3 separate regions of the Homo sapiens genome follow, and regions 2 and 3 are each linked to region 1. Evidence: promoter capture Hi-C in 16 types of primary human blood cells and fetal thymus (Javierre and others, 2016). All regions are on one chromosome and are shown on one strand. Each heading gives the region's core, a stretch centred on a gene start or on the middle of the fragment in contact. The rest is flanking DNA. Distances are from core to core; before and after follow the strand shown. Region 1 holds the start of TIMP4 (TIMP metallopeptidase inhibitor 4). Region 2 overlaps PPARG (peroxisome proliferator activated receptor gamma). Region 3 overlaps PPARG (peroxisome proliferator activated receptor gamma).

Evidence for each region. The method cuts DNA at HindIII sites, captures the fragments that hold promoters and counts their contacts. A CHiCAGO score of 5 or more calls a contact.
Region 2: a fragment that was not itself captured here is called in contact with the fragment with the promoter of TIMP4 in region 1 in 3 of 17 cell types (M1 macrophages, monocytes and M2 macrophages); the score reaches 5.5 in M1 macrophages.
Region 3: a contact is called between a fragment that was not itself captured here and the fragment with the promoter of TIMP4 in region 1, in 1 of 17 cell types (M2 macrophages). The highest score is 5.2, in M2 macrophages.

The regions. Positions count from the first base shown.
Region 1 is chr3:12,157,190-12,160,545 of GRCh38, reverse strand. It overlaps TIMP4 (TIMP metallopeptidase inhibitor 4), which reads left to right and starts at 1,634. Exons shown (of 5, transcript NM_003256.4): 1 at 1,634-1,844; 2 at 3,064-3,161. The coding sequence starts at 1,706. All of the region lies in intron 5 of SYN2 (synapsin II), which reads right to left. The HindIII fragment of the contact is 8,121 bases long and covers 1-3,356 here.
Region 2 is chr3:12,395,740-12,399,095 of GRCh38, reverse strand. The region is part of intron 5 of PPARG (peroxisome proliferator activated receptor gamma); the gene reads right to left. Among named protein-coding and RNA genes, the nearest start is that of TSEN2, 87 kb to the left of the region's middle. The HindIII fragment of the contact is 6,825 bases long and covers 1-3,356 here.
Region 3 is chr3:12,365,278-12,368,633 of GRCh38, reverse strand. The region is part of intron 2 of PPARG (peroxisome proliferator activated receptor gamma); the gene reads right to left. Among named protein-coding and RNA genes, the nearest start is that of PPARG, 78 kb to the right of the region's middle. The HindIII fragment of the contact is 851 bases long and covers 1,248-2,098 here.

The DNA.
Region 1 (3,356 bases), core at 385-2,884:
TTCAGTCAGACTCAGCTCTCTTTCAATTCCCTTCTTTTCAAATATCACTAACACCATCAAAATGAAAAGGTATCCTTTGAAGGAAATAATGTTGACCCTGATGAAAAGTCAGACTCCTATGGGAACTAAGATTTGAACAGATACTGGGGGTATCTGGCCTGAGGATCTCAGCATTCCTGGTTGAGGCCAGCCAAGGATGGGAAGAAGAACTTCAAAGGGCTTTAGAAATCACGTAGTTCAACTCTACTTTATGAAGAAAAAACTGAGGCCCAGAGAGGCAAAAGTCACAAAGCTACAGTGACAGTCAGAATTGGAACCCAGCCTCCCACTATCCAGTCCAGCACCATGTGGAAACATCCCACAGCAATAATCCCATGGAGATTTGGGATTTGGAGGCTTGCAACACTGTGCCCAAACAGCAGACAAGGCTCTGGTCACAGTCACCCCCAAGTCCCCTGCTTCTTTGTTTTTTCTTTTACTTTTTTTTTTTTTTTTTTTTTTTTGAGACGGAGTCTCACTCTGTCGCCCAGACTGGAGTGCAGTGGCACAGTCTCAGCTCACTTCAACCTCCGCCTCCTGGGTTCAAGCCATTCTCTTGCCTCAGCCTCCTGAGTACCTGGGACTACAGGTGTAGGCCACCACGCCCGGCTAACTTTTGTATTTTTAGTAGGGACGGAGTTTCATCATGATGGCTAGGGTGATCTCGAACTCCTGACCTCAGGTGATCAACCCGCCTTGGCTTCCCAAAGTGCTGAGATTACAGGCGTGAGCCACCACGCCCAGCCTGCTTCTTTGTTTTCTAAGCTGTCCCACCTTCTAGAACATGACAGAGTCTCCAGTGAGAAGGGACATGCAATAAAAATCAATGTAGTCTAGGGCCTCGAGAGGGCTTTGAGGTCCAAGGTTTGCCCTAAGTGATGGGACACTTTGTGTTTTGTACACCAAGAGCGCTGTCTCCAGCTATCTGGAGAGTCTGAGGCTCTGGGAGTGAGAAAGGGTTTCTAAAGCACTGGCTGCTTCTTTGACATCTCTCCCCACCCCCCAGGCAACAGAGCCAAGACACACACACCCCAACTTTCTCTGTCCTGTTCTATTACTGTTTGCTGTTGCTTTGGAGCCTCATAAATAGGGCATTGAAAGCACTTCCTGCAGCTGAAAGAAGCCCTGAGTAGCTCGTCTCATTCCCAGCGTGCAGCTCAGCAAGGGGTCCGTCCTTCTCTGTCACTGTCTCTTTTGCCTGTTGTAATTCTGTCTGCCTCTCTGGGACTCTGCCTGTCTCACTCTTTCTGTCTGTGCCTCTCCTCACTCTTGTTCTTTCTGCCTGAATCACAGCCCTCAGTTTTTCTGTCCTCATGCATTTGTCTTTGTGGCTCTTTCCGTCTTTCTGCCCTTGACACCATCCCCTCTCCCAGTGCTTCCCCTCTGCTTCCAGATCGCTTCATGACTTAGGCAGGGAAACAGAGGTCAGGGCCTCCTTCCAGGCTTCCCTCTGCATCTTACTGAGTATGCAGGTCGGAAGAGCCTCGGGTCCTGCCTCCGCGGGTGGCCTAGAGCCAAAGGAAGGCGGAGCCCGTCGGGGCGGGATTGGCCCTTAGGGCCACCTCATAAAGCCTGGGGCGAGGGGCACAACGGCCTTGGGAAGGAGCCCTGCTGGGGCCGTCCAGTCCCCCAGACCTCACAGGCTCAGTCGCGGATCTGCAGTGTCATGCCTGGGAGCCCTCGGCCCGCGCCAAGCTGGGTGCTGTTGCTGCGGCTGCTGGCGTTGCTGCGGCCCCCGGGGCTGGGTGAGGCATGCAGCTGCGCCCCGGCGCACCCTCAGCAGCACATCTGCCACTCGGCACTTGGTGAGTCCGAGGTCCGCGAGGTCCACAGCAGGGGGTGGTTGTGGGGGATTAGTATCTGGCCAGCAGTACACCAGGAGTCCAGAGGAAAAGGGAGGAGCTCAAATTCTTACCGGTTGTCTCTTGCTGAGGCTGATGGGTGGAGAAGGACCAGGCGCCATAGCAACCTTGCAAGCCCAGAACCTGACTGATTCATAAGGAAATGAAGATTTCATCAGGGACTTCCATAGCGACCTCCCTCACTCCGGCCATACTGCAATTATGGAGTGTCATTACACAAGGTGTCACCGGAGCTATCTGATGATTATTCTGAACTACTAGACTGGGGACAGAAAGGGGAGGGGAGAGGGCTTGCATTGTAACTACCCGTGTCTGTCCAGGCCTATAACTGAGGTTGCCACCAAGCCCCTATGGCAACACACACGTTCTGTCCTTTCTCTTCCCTCTGCCTGGAATGCCCTCCCTCACACCCTTAAATTCCTGGCAGACTCCTACTCATCCTTCAAGGGCTAACTTAGGTCTCTCCCCTTCTCTGCAGGCTCCCGGGCTCCTTGGTGCCGCCTCAGCATCTCTAACCGTCTTAGCGCTCCTACTATGCTGTGCTGTTGTTCTTTACACGTGTGCACTCCACTAGATCAAGAGCTCGGCAGGATGGGGACCCTGTCTTAATCACATCTATGGGCCTAGTGCCTAGTGCAAGGCCAGGCACAGAGGAAGAACATCATCAACAGTTTTTGGTTATTAATGCTCAAATGGCAAGAGATGCAATACCTCAGTGCAGGGTCAGAACATTTATGAATTCAATAAACATTTACTAATATCAACTGTAGGCGGGATGAGAGGCCTTGACCACAGCAATAGATAAACTTCACACCGACTGCCCTGAAGGGGCTCCTCCTCCCTTCTCTACTCTGACTCCTACCCTGTGCCCCACTGCACAAACGGCTATGGAGAACTAGAGCTCTCCAGACTAACTGGTTCAAAAGGCAGAAACAGCTTAGCGGTTATAGGACCTAATAAGCCTGAGGGGTTTGGAACTTCCAGTGACTGCAGGGGAGGTGTTTCCAGGTCCCCCTTCTCACACATCACGTTGCTCACAACCCAGCCACACCAAAACCAAGAACTGCCCTATAGACTTCTTCATGGACCCTGGATCATCCAGACCTCAGGTGTATTGCCCCCACCAGCTGCTGAAGGTTCCCTCTTTTCTCTTCCTATGCAGTGATTCGGGCCAAAATCTCCAGTGAGAAGGTAGTTCCGGCCAGTGCAGACCCTGCTGACACTGAAAAAATGCTCCGGTATGAAATCAAACAGATAAAGGTACATGGGGGCAGGCTGGGATGTGTAGCCCCTAAGGCTGATGGAGAAAGTGGAGTCTGTGTTCTGGGAGGGCTGGTAGCTTTCAGGTGGCCTGGCTCAGTAATCCTTGGGTCTAGATACTGAAGTGGAACTGGATGAGATTTGGAGGCAGAGCCCATAGAATCCCAGGGATATTGCCAGGGAGGGCCTCAGCAT
Region 2 (3,356 bases), core at 332-2,831, 240 kb before region 1:
AAAGGATGGAAAGGACATGTCTGGTAGGGGAGACTGGGTATATTACACAGATGAGTCTTTCTCTAGTGTGCCTCTCTGTACTGGCTCTGGCCTTTCTGCCCAGGTTGAAGGTTCTGACTCTACTATTACCTCCTCTTTAAGCTATCTTTCCTCCACCACTGAACTTACTGAAAGAGTTGTTTTCACTCCGTCTGTGTTTGTCACTTTCTATTCACTTCTCGATCTACTGCAGTCTAGCTTTGCGCTCACTGGGATTTACCAAAACTTTGTAAAAATCCTGAATGCTTTTCTCTCGGCCAGAACTAATGGCCTCTTCTAAGTTCTCAATAGACTTGAGCTCTTCAGTATTCTCCCAGCCTTTAATTCTGGTGACCATCTCCGCCCTCTTATTTCCAAAATTTCTTGTCCTGGTTCCTGCTGTTCTGGGTCCTCTAACATTCTGCCAGCTGCTCTCCAGATCTCTCTGATGGTGCCTCTCCCTTAGCTTGTATTCTGTGGTCCCTAGTGTGACCTCTCTAACCTACAATGGGTGCTGATGATTCCTGCTCTCTCTTCACTGAAATTTGGAGCCTTATTTTTCACATCCTCCTATATTCCTCTATACGTAGTTGCTGGATACTCTATAGGCATCTCTAACACAATATAAAACTGAATTTAAAATTTTCTCCTCCAAACTGGCTCTTATTCCTGTGTTCCTCTCTTGGTTAATTCATTCTATCACCCAAATTAGATATCCTAAATAATCTTTGACAACTTCTCTCCCTTCAGGCGCTTTTATTCATTGGTCACTGCTCTGATATTTCTCTCAATTTCCTTTCTTCTCACCCTTCTCAATGTCTTATTTCCTAATATTGCATTGGTCTTCAGATGGATTTCCCAATTCCAGTCTTTTCTCTATCATTTTTACTGCTATCGGTATTTTTTTTTTTTTGGTAATATGTATCTGATCACTCTCTTGCTTTTTAAGGCAGAATGTGATATCACAGGAAGGTATGAAACACATAGAAAAGGAAGAGCAGGGAATCAGAAAAGTCTCATGGGAAGGAAGGCATTTGAATGCAGCCTTGAATGTCAGGAAGAATTTCCACAAGGAACAGACAGACGCATCAACAGAGGCCCAGAGGTATCCAAGCATAAGCCATTTTCCAGGAACAGCAAAATGCAGGGTTTGCCTGAGGTGTGAGTGGAAAGTGGGCAGGGGTGGGGAGAGGAGGTGGGCTCCAACATGGGCGGTTCTGGAGTCCACGCAGGGTAGAGGGACAGGGCAGCTGGAGCAAACATGTACTGCCACATGCATTAGGAGTTTGTTACCTTTTCTGAAAGTTAAGATTTGGGTAATTTTTCTTTACACAACCAAGAAGACTAAAGAAAAAAAAGGAATAGGTTAGCCAGACGCGGTGGCTCACGCCTGTAATCCCAGCACTTTGAGAGGCTGAGGTGGGCAGATCATGAGGTCAGGAGATCGCGACCATCCTGGCTAACACGGTGAAACCCCGTCTCTACTAAAAATACAAAAAATTAGCCGGGCATGGTGGCAGGCGCCTGTAGTCCCAGCTACTCAGGAGGGTGAGGCAGGAGAATGGTGTGAATCCGGGAGGTGGAGCTTGCAGTGAGCCTAGATCGCGCCACTGCACTCCAGCCTGGGCAACAGAGCGAGACTTTGTCTCAATAATAATAATAATAATAATAATAATAATAATAATAATAATAATAATAAAAAGGAATAGGTTAAAGTTGAAATCTAGTATTTGCCATTCAGAATTTTTCCTTTTCTCAATATACACTAGAGCTGCTGTTTGCAAGGCACTGAGAGAACTACCTTAAAAATGTTGAGTGTCACAAAAATTTGTGAAATCTTTTTTTCTGGATTTTTATGAAGCCACTGAGAAACTATTTTGAAAGTTGTCAGTTTTTTTTAAAAAATTACAAACTCTCTCTCATTTATATAATAAGACATCCTAGTCAGCAAAGCTAAGATTTCAATAGTTTTTAAATTTATGAAAAACATATTTTTAACCAAATCTCAATGTTATAGAGAAAACCTAACTGAATGATTCATAAATAACATGTCAATTCTTCTCTAGATTATTTTCTTAAATAGGTCAGGTGCAGTGGCACATGCCTATAGTTTCAGCAACTCCAGATGCTGAGGTGAGCCCAGCCTAAGCAACACAGGGAGACTCCATCTCTAAAAATAGTAATAATAAATACAGAAAATTTTAAAAATAAAAAGGGCACTTAGCCTAAACTTACTATTTTATTATTTAGTTCATACATTAAAAAGAGCTCTGAATATGAATTATTCACTAGTCACAATTCTTTTTTTTTTTTTTTTTTTGAGACTGGGTCTTGCTCTGTTACCCAGACTGGAGTGCAGTGGTGCAATCATGGCTCACTGCAACTTCCACCCCCTGGGCTAAAGCGATCTTCCCACTCCAGACTCCCGAGTAGCTGAAACCACAGGCACAAGCCATCACGCCCGACTAATTTTTTGTAGTTTTAGTAGATATGGAGTCTTGTCATGTTTCCCAGGCTGGTCTCGAACTCCTCAGCTCAAGTGGTCCTCTGACCTCGGCCTCCCAAAGTGCTGGGATTATAGGCATGAGCCACCATGCCTGGCCCACAAGCCAAAATTCTTAATGACTAAATAATTTTATTAAAAATAAAGAGGACAAGGCCAGTGTGGTAGCTCACGCCTGTAATCCTAGCACTTTGGGAGGCTGAGGTGGGTGGATCACCTGAGGTCAGGAGTTCGAGACCATCTTGGCCAACATGGTGAAGCCCCATCTTTACTAAAAATACAAAAATCAGCTGGGTATGGTTTCGGGCACCTGTAATCCCAGCTACTCAGGAGGCTAAGGCAGGAGAATTGCTTGAACCTGGGAGGCGGAGGTTGCAGTGAGCCAAGATTGTACCATTGTACTCCAGACTGGGCGACAGAGCGAGACTCCATCTCAAAAAAAAATAATAATAAAAAATAAAGAAGACATATTTTTAAAATGCAATTACTATAAAGGACTTGGCAGCAGGATTTTAAAACAAAAATGACTACTTTGAAAATCTATAAAAATGCATGCAAGAGCCCATTTGACTAAAGAAGCAACATTATCCATGAGTCTTTTTATCAAGATTCTGCAGACACCAGCTTCACTAACAAAGAGTAGTTGATGCAATGATCACTTGGTAAGTTACATACACCGCTGAGTGGCCTAGGAAGTGGGTCTGTATTTCTGCTTCATTTTCATTTTGAGCTTTCCTCTAAGGGCAGTGTCTAGACACAGTAGTGAATTGATTGTGCTTGAGATGACTCAGGAAGGCTTCTGAGCAATCGGTGGAATTAACCCATGGTCCAGAAA
Region 3 (3,356 bases), core at 424-2,923, 210 kb before region 1:
CCACCTAACAGATTAAAAATATTAGACATAAAAAGGTTAAGTGACTTGCCCAATGTTAAATAGGTATTGGGGCTAGAGTTTAAATTCTGTCATGGTTTCTCTGAATATAGAATCTTTTATTTTGGGCACCATGAATTAAGAAAATGATTAGAGGCTGGGCGTGGTGGCTCACGTTTGTAATCCCAGCACTTTGGGAAGACAAGGTGGGAGGATCACCTGAGGTCAGGAGTTCGAGACCAGCCTGGCCTACATGGTGAAACCCTGTCTCTACCAAAAATACAAAAATTAGCCGGGCGTGGTGGCGCAGGCCTGTAGTCCCAGCTACTTGGGAGACTGAGGCAGGAGAATCACTTGAACTCGGGAGATGGAGGTTGCAGTGAGCCGAGTTCATGCCAGTGCACTCCAGCCTGGGCAACAGAGAGAGACACTGTCTGAAAAAAAAACAAAAAAGAAAAAGAAAAAAATGAAAACTATTAGAAATTAACTATTTGGTGTGTCATTTGCTTCTTCAATATAAACAAATGTATTTTCATTTTATTGTCTACTTAGACTATATTCAAAACCAAATTCAATGTTTCTGAAGTTTGATTTCCCATTGATAGCTTTGAGATTGAAACATTCCAATATGTATCTTTAGATGCAAATTTCTTTATAATAAGCCAGAAGGTCTCACAGGAAATTTTCAAATTCAGATCAACAAAGGGTATTAGAAAGACCATGTTTTTTATTATATTTTATTTAATTTTACTATTATTTTTTGAGGCAGGGTCTCACTCTGTCATGCAGGCTGGAGTGCAGTGGCACAATTATGGTTCACTGAAGCCTCGACCTCCCTGTGCTGAAGTGATCCTTCCACTTCAGCCTTCCAAGTAGCTGGGACCACAGGCATTCACCACCACATTCATCTAATTTTTTTATTTTTATTTTTTTATTTTTATTTTTTTTTTTGTAGAGGCAAGGTATCATTATGTTGCCCAGGCTATTCTCAAACTCCCGGACTCAAGCAATCCTCCCGCCTCAGCCTCCCAAAGTGTTGGGATTACAGGCATGAGTCACTATGCTTGGCCCATGTTCATTTTCAAAAGCATATTTCCTCTTGCATGAGCCACATCTTGTCTAGGGAGTTTGCTTACGCTGGTCCTGAGGTATCAGGACACAGAAAAGATTACAGGATTATGCCCTCACCAATATAAACATTTCTTCTGCTTCCTCAGCAAAAATTCATTATGGTCAAACTAGCTCAAGCTTGGTTCCTCTGCTAAAAGTACCTTCATATATTTCTAAAGGGAGATATTACTAATAATCTGATTAGGACTAAGGCTAAATCTGTTGAACAGTTGCTTTGGTTTAGTTGAAATTCTACTTTGTCTAGTACGTGAAGAATGAATGAAAGTTATTCAGAAATGAAAGAGGGGTATCATTACAGATCTCATTGACATTAAAGGATAATAGGCTCTATGCTCACAAATTTGATAATCTAGGTGAAATGAACTCATTCCTTGAAAGACATAATTTTCCAAAACTCATACAAGATGAAATAGAGAAATGGAATAGGCCTACATTTATTAATGAAATTGAATCAATAACTAATAACCTTCTGAAACAGAAGGCACCGGACTGGGTTCACTGGTGAATTCTACCAAACATTTAAGGAAGAAATTATACCAATTCTCTGAAATCTCTTTCAGAATATAAAAGCAGAGGGAATACTTCCTAACTCATTCAATGAGGCTAGAATTACCCTAATACTAAAACAAAACAGACATTACAAGGAAAATAAACCCTATAGACCAATCTCTCATGGACAGACATGCAGAAATCTTTAACAAAATATCAGCAAATTGAATCCGATAATGTATGAAAAGAATTATACACCATGGCCAAGTGAGATTTAGCTAAGGTATGTGGGGTTGGTTCAACATTAGAAAACAAATTAATGTAATCCATCACACCCATAGCCTAAAGAAGAAAAATCACATGATCATATCAATAAATGCAGAAAAAGAATTTGACAAAATAAGAAAACTTCCTAAACTTAGGAACATCTACAAACAAAACATATAGTTAACATCATAAGTAATGGTGAGAAACTCAAGCTTTCCCACTAAGATTAGGAATAAGGCAAGGATATCTTCTCTCACTACTGCTTTTCAACATCATACTAGAAGTCTTAGCTAACGTAACAAGACAAGAAAAGGAAATAAAAGGGATACAGATTGGGAAGGTAAAAATAAAACTGTCTTTGTTTGCAAATGACATGACTTCTACATAAAAAAATCCAAAAGAACAGAAAAAAAAAAAATCTCCTGGACCTAGTAAGTGATTATAGCAAGGTTGCAGGATACAAGGTTAATATACAAAAGTCATAATGCTTTCCTATATACCAGCAATGAACAAGCGAAATTTAATATTAAAAACACATTACCCCCAAACAGACATTACATTTTCCTCATAATGTCTGTTTTGTTTTACATTAGCACCCCGAAAAGTAAAATACTTAAGTATAAATTTAATAAAATATATATGAAACCTATATAGGAAAACTACAAAACTCTGATGAAAGATATCAAAGAATGAAATAAATGGAGAGACACTGCATGCTCATGGATAGGAAGACTCAGTATTGTCAAGATGTCATTCATCCCAACTTGATCTATAGATTCAATGCAATCACAATAACAATCCCAGCAAGTTATTTTGTGGATATTGGCAAACTGGTTCTGCAGTTTATATGGAGAAGCAAAAGACCCGTAATAGCCAACTCAATATTAAAGAAGAAGAATAAAGTCGAAGGACTGACATTACCTGACTTCAAGCCTTACTAGAAAGTTAAAGTAATTAAGATAGTACGGTACTGGCAAAAGAATAGACAAATAGATCAAAGGAACAGAATACAGAGCCCAGAAATAGGACCACATAAATGTAGTCAGCTGATCTTTGATGAAGAAACCAGGGTAATACACTGGAGCAAAGACAGTCTTTTCAACAACTGGGACTGGAGCAACTGGACATCCACATGCAAAAAAATATAATAATAACAATAATAATAATAATAATTTAGACACAGAGCTTATTCTCTTCATAAAAATTAACTCAAAATGGAACATAGATCTAAATGTAAAGTACAAAACTATAAAACTCCCTGAAGACAATATAGGAGAAAACCTAGATGACCTTGAGCACGGATAGGACTTTTTAGATACACCACCAGAGACATGAACCATGAAATAACTGATTATCTGGACTTCATTAAAATAAAAAAAGTCTGCTCTGTGCAAAACAGTGTCAAGAGAATGAGTAAACAAGCCACAGATGGGGAGAATGTATCTGTACAAAACACATCTGATAAAGCAGGG